2 separate regions of the Homo sapiens genome follow, and region 1 is linked to region 2. Evidence: promoter capture Hi-C in 16 types of primary human blood cells and fetal thymus (Javierre and others, 2016). All regions are on one chromosome and are shown on one strand. Each heading gives the region's core, a stretch centred on a gene start or on the middle of the fragment in contact. The rest is flanking DNA. Distances are from core to core; before and after follow the strand shown.

Region 1 (2,905 bases), core at 357-2,856, 110 kb before region 2:
AATCAGGCTGGTCTCAAACTCCTCACCTCAGGTGATCCGCCCAACTCAGCCTCCCAAAGTGCTGGGATTACAGGCGTGAGCCACCGTGCCCGGCCTTGCTGTTTGTATTTTAAAAAGTAAACAAGTCAGGCTATTTTACAAAACATTTCTTCCTCTCATTCCTGTCCTTGGGCATTGCCTTCTTGAATTAATATAGTATCTCTTGGGGCAGAGGATTTGAAATGGGCTTTTACTTTGTCTTGCAGGTTATCTGGGATACACTAGGAAACAAGCAATTTTGTTCCTTCAAAATAAGGTGAGTCTCAATTTACAACTTGGTCAAAGATTCCTTCAGTTGCCTCTTTGGCAACCCATTTTATAATCTTTGTTTCTTTTCTCCCATTCTAGAACCAAGACTCAGAGCTTCTGCCGAAATGAATATAGCCTGACTGGACTGTGTAATCGGTCATCCTGTCCCCTGGCAAATAGTCAGTATGCCACTATTAAAGAAGAGAAAGGTAACTCCCCAGTTTTAACTTCTAGAAGAACTGCTCCACAGCTTTTACAGGGATGTTCTTTAGTTTCTGTAAATAACACTAAAGCTATTTTACTTTATCTTCAGGACAGTGCTACTTGTATATGAAGGTTATAGAACGAGCGGCTTTTCCTCGGCGTCTCTGGGAACGGGTAAGCCTTACAACAAAACTACAGTGACCGCTGATCAAGAGCATCAAAGCCACATGCTTGACCATGATGCCCAATTCCATGACCATTAACTTTTGAGGCCATCCTCATTAGGCCATGGGTGTCACTGACAGTGAAAACCTAATGAATCATTTACACTTGCCCTTCAAACTTCCTGTTTCTGTTTGGTAGGTCCGGCTTAGTAAAAACTATGAGAAAGCACTGGAGCAAATAGATGAAAATCTGATTTACTGGCCCCGTTTCATTCGACACAAATGTAAGCAGAGATTCACCAAGATCACCCAATACCTAATTCGAATTAGAAAACTTACACTAAAGCGACAGTAAGTATTTGGATCATTCATTATTTTTAAATCTCTCTTTTTATGGAGCTTGTTTTGAAGTTGAGAAATTGTGAAACTTCGGGGCTTTCTATTCAACTTTGTGGAGTCTGTTATGATGTACTAAAGAGAAACTTTAGCTTTGACTAAAGGTGTGCCCTTTGATATGGCAGGACTTTTAAAACAGTAGAATACAACTTGATTATCACCCTCCTTGTCTGAAAATCTTTCAGAAAATTTTATTTTCTTTTTTGTTAAGACGGAGTCTCACTCTGTCGCCCAGGCTGGAATTTGCAGTGGCGCGACCTCAGCTCACTGCAACCTCCATCTCCCCGGTTGAAGCAATCCTCCCACCTCAGCCTCCTGAGCAGCTAGGATTACAGGCATGGACCACCATGCCTGGTTAATTTTTTTTGTATTTTTAGTAGAGATGGGGTTTCACCATGTTGGCCAGGCTGGTCTAGAATTCCTGACCTCAAGCGATCCGCCTTAGCCTCCCAAAGTGCTGGGATTACAGGCATGAGCCACCATGCCCAGCCTTCAGAAAATTTCCTCTATGACCCCCGAGGGAATCTTAACTTTAGAGATTTGAAAATGATCTAAGACATGTGACTATACAGGAATGTAAGAACTTTACTCTGGATTCACTGAAAACTAATTTTTAAAAGTGATATGAAATCCCCAGAATTAACAGAATACCTTCTCTAGGACTGTTAGGCCCTAATGCTTTTTGACTGTGATCTACATAGAATGCTAAAGATGATGTCAGACTTCGACAGAAAATTCTTTTTTCTTAGTTCACTGAAGTCTTAATTTTAGCATGGTGAATGCCCTGAGAATCCCAGAATGCCTGAACAAAAATGGCCGGATTAAAATACATGTAAAAATATATGACTTTTTATAGTATTAAATTTCTAGAAGCGTTTAGTGTATCTTGCTGTATTGAGCTGAGCCCTACAGCACCAACCTTGGGCTCCAAGGCTTGTTTGAATCGCTAGCCTCCGTGAATGCCTGAAGCTCAGCCATCCTGCCCTGCACATGAGTAGACTTCCATTTTAGTCACCAATTCCAATCCTTTTTTCTTCTCATCCTTAAAAAGGAACACAGCACATGACAGTGGATTTTCTGATATATTTTCTTTCCCTTAGGAGGAAACTTGTTCCTTTGAGTAAGAAGGTGGAGCGTAGGGAGAAAAGAAGAGAGGTAACTTATTGTTGAGATATTCATACCTTCTACATTTTCTTTCTGGGGGTCTCTTATAGATTCAGTCACCATCATTATGTAAACTGTTGAGGCCTTGGATAATGGTTCACTAATAGATAACTATTAGTTGCCTAAGACATTTAATTTTTCATATTTTAAGATTATGATTTTCAGCACAGGTTAAAGTATGTGTGCTTTGGGGATATATGTAATGGAGAACAGAAAGAATCCACAACTCCTTTTTCTGAATTTCTTGTGGTCAAATATTTCAGACTTCAGAATTTTGATGTTGCATATTTTACATACTACATAAAACCTTTAGTAGATTTTGAGCATTCTAATCAAATGGAATTTCTGCAGTGAAATACAATACAGGCATGCAGTGAGTAATAACATCATGGAAAATTGGGTATCCGTCCCCTCAAGCATTTATCCTTTGTGTTACAAACAGTTCAATTATCCTTACAGTTATTTTAAAATGTACAATTAAATAATTGACTATAGTCACGCTGTTGTGCTGCTAGCAAATACTAGGTCTTATTTCATTCTTCCTATTTTTTTTAGCGGGGGTACCCATTAATCATCCCCACCCCCATTACCCTTCCCAGCCTCTGGTAACCATCCTTCTACTCTGTATATCCATGAGTTCAATTGTTTTGATTTTTTGATCCCACAAATAAGTGAAAATGTGCAGTGTT
Region 2 (2,858 bases), core at 231-2,730:
AGGGATCCTGCCAGGTCCAGGGGCTCAGAGGCTTAGAATTACCAACCGTATGGCTGTTGGAGTCAAGTGACCCTACAAAACACGAGGTCAATAACGAGGGGCTTAGCAGGTGTGTCTCAGATTACCTGTTGAGCTGCAGAGCTGGGAAGGACCAGCGTTTGAGGCTTGCCCTGGGACCTTCAGGCAGGGAGGCAACAATGGCAAGGCCCCTTCCCCCTCCCTCCCCATCCTCTCACACCTGTGGTCCTGCCTGTTTGAAAGCAGGAGGTCCTGGAGCCTGCAGAATCCCCTTCCACTCCCTTCCTGGCCTCCTGCCAGGGGGACTTCAACTCTATGACCAGCAGTGAGAGGCCATCTTTGTCCCTGCCCATGCTCTGTCCCCATCTCACACCCCTAGACAGGGCCCAGCTCTCCCTTGCTCCAGTGCCAAGAGAAACCAAGCACTTACAAGGCATTAGAAGCAGGGGTTTTAGGACCAGGATTGGTGAGGGAAGATTGGATGTTAGGGAGTTTAGGGAGAGAGAGTTTTCAATGGCTGGGTCCGGAAGGAGCACAGAAATATAGCACTACAGCCATCATCACCACCACCATCACCATCATCACTACCACCATCACCACCATCACTATCACCATCATCTTCTTCTACCTTTGCACCCAGGCCTAAAGACCCCATTACTGTATTGCAATACAACCTTTCCTCTTAGAGAGTCTGCTGTCTACGAGATGATGAATGGGATGGGGGAAGCGTGAAGGAGCCCAGGTCTAAGAAGGATCTCCGTGGGGCTGTTTTTCCCGGGGGATGCAGAAGCCCCTTTCTGTCCAGGGATACAGCCCTGGGCATTCTCCAATCCCATCCGTCGGCTCCAGGGGCCCTGGCCCGCCGCTCCCTCCCTCCGCCTGCGGTCGCCTTTGTAACAGGTCCATGGCTGTCGCCCCAGTCCTCGCCAGCCTGGCAGCCGGGCCCCGCGCGCGGAGGGAGGGCGCCCGGGAGAGAGAGGCTGGCTCGCTGGGCTCGGGTGCCCGCTTCCCGGTCCCCTCCCTCCCCCGTCGCCCCTAGCTGGGCGCCTCTCCCCAGCGTGGAGAGCCAGCTGAAAAGGCGAAGGCCCGCCGCAGCCCCTCTACCTCTTTGCAAGCGCTGCGCTGGGCCTCAGTCCGAAAGGCGGATCGCCGGCGCAGACAGCGCCACGGCCATGACGCTCCTGCTGCTGTCGCCGCCGCTGTTTCTGCCCAAGACAGGTTGACAGATTAGCAGCTATTTTTAAGCCATGACACACACGTCGAAGCAGGGTTCAAATCAGCGTGTGCGCTGGTGACATAAAGGGACTCGGTCTCACATTCGGTGGCCCGAGTCGCCAGGCAGCGTGGGCTCCCCAGCCAACCCCCCACGAGCCCGCGCGCCTTGCAGACCAGACACGGCCCCGCCGAGCCCCAGCAGCACCGCCTGGAATGCATGCGTGTGTTCTCAGAGCTGCACCAATTACAAAGCGTTTTGCCTAAAGATTACATTATAAGTCATCCCAGGCACTGTCTTAAACACACACACTCCTCCCAGACAGAATTAACTAATTACATAGACACGATTCTGTGCACTGGCTTGTACATGCCTCGGTCTCAAGAAACCGTGTCATAAAGAACAATGGTCCGAAGCCCCCATTAGCCTTCATTATATGCCATGTGCTTCATTTAGCTTAAGGCATTTTATACTCCCCACAAGTCTATGAGGGAGACATAATTACTATTGTCCTAATTTTAGGGAGGAGGCGACCTAGGCACAGAGAGGCTAGGTACTCTGCCCTGGTCACACAGCTCGTTACTGGCAGAGCTGAGCTTGTTCAAACAATGCAGCCTGGCTTTGCAGTTTATGTCCTTAACCACTCTCTAAACCAGTGCCTCCCACAAAATGGAGAAGGCACCATGGATTTCCTTCATTCAGGAAGCCATTTCCACCAGCTCAGCTCATAGTGAACTTCACTTTCCCCAGACTCTCAAAACATTCATCTTCATATTTCTTTCTTTCTTTTTTGAGATGCAGTCCCACTCTGTCGCCCAGGCTGGAGTGCAGTGGCGCAATCTTGGCTCATTGTAACCCGCCTCCCAGGTTCAAGCCATTCTCCTGCCTCAGCTTCCCAAGTAGCTGGGATTACAGGCGCCCGCCTCCATGCCTGGCTAATTTTTTGTATATATTTTTTCTTTGTTTGTTTGTTTTTTAGTACAGATGGGGTTTCACCATGTTGACCAGGCTGGTCTTGAACTCCTGACCTCAGGTGATCCACCCACCTTCTCTCAAAGTGCTCAGATTACAGGCATGAGCCACTGTGTCCGGCCATCTTCATATTAATTTCTCATGTGCTGCCTTCTAGTGACATATTCACTTGATCGGCATTTTTATTGTAAGCACCAAGATTGTAAGCACTTTGAAGGCAGGGACTGTGCTACCTTCCCCAGTGCCTACCTTATTGTGTGAGAGGGAAGTGGGGGAGATGATAAATGTTAGCAGATGATGCTGTTGAGAACTAGGCTGGCTTGAACTCTCGCTGTCTACTAGAAGAAAGGCAGAAAGTAGATTGGCTCAGATTGAAGCTGATGGTGTCAGCTATAGCTGAAACCAGGACTGACTCCATTCCCAGCAGTGGTGGCAGATCAGGTTTTGATCTCTGGGTTAGAGAAAGTACTGGCCAATGTGACCAATCCCCAGGTTCCATGACAGGCTGCCATCCAAGTTTAATGTACCGCCTAGCCTTTTTTTTTCTCTAGAGAAACAAAATTCTTTTCACTTTTCCTTGTCCCTTGTGTTACAGCAGTTTAAATATGAAATGAAATCCTTGTCATTTAAAACAAAGAGGCAGGGCATGGTGGCT

What was found. The method cuts DNA at HindIII sites, captures the fragments that hold promoters and counts their contacts. A CHiCAGO score of 5 or more calls a contact.
Region 1: a contact is called between a fragment that was not itself captured here and the fragment with the promoter of DUSP26 in region 2, in 2 of 17 cell types (non-activated CD4 T cells and total B cells). The highest score is 7.0, in non-activated CD4 T cells.

Annotation. Positions count from the first base shown.
Region 1 is chr8:33,488,133-33,491,037 of GRCh38, forward strand. MAK16 (MAK16 homolog) reads left to right here. Exons shown (of 10, transcript NM_032509.4): 2 at 246-295; 3 at 388-497; 4 at 602-666; 5 at 856-1,007; 6 at 2,153-2,207. Among named protein-coding and RNA genes, the nearest start is that of MAK16, 4.4 kb to the left of the region's middle. The HindIII fragment of the contact is 5,323 bases long and covers 1-2,905 here.
Region 2 is chr8:33,598,543-33,601,400 of GRCh38, forward strand. DUSP26 (dual specificity phosphatase 26) reads right to left here and starts at 1,481. Exons shown (of 4, transcript NM_024025.3): 1 at 1,123-1,481. The HindIII fragment of the contact is 17,028 bases long and covers 1-2,858 here.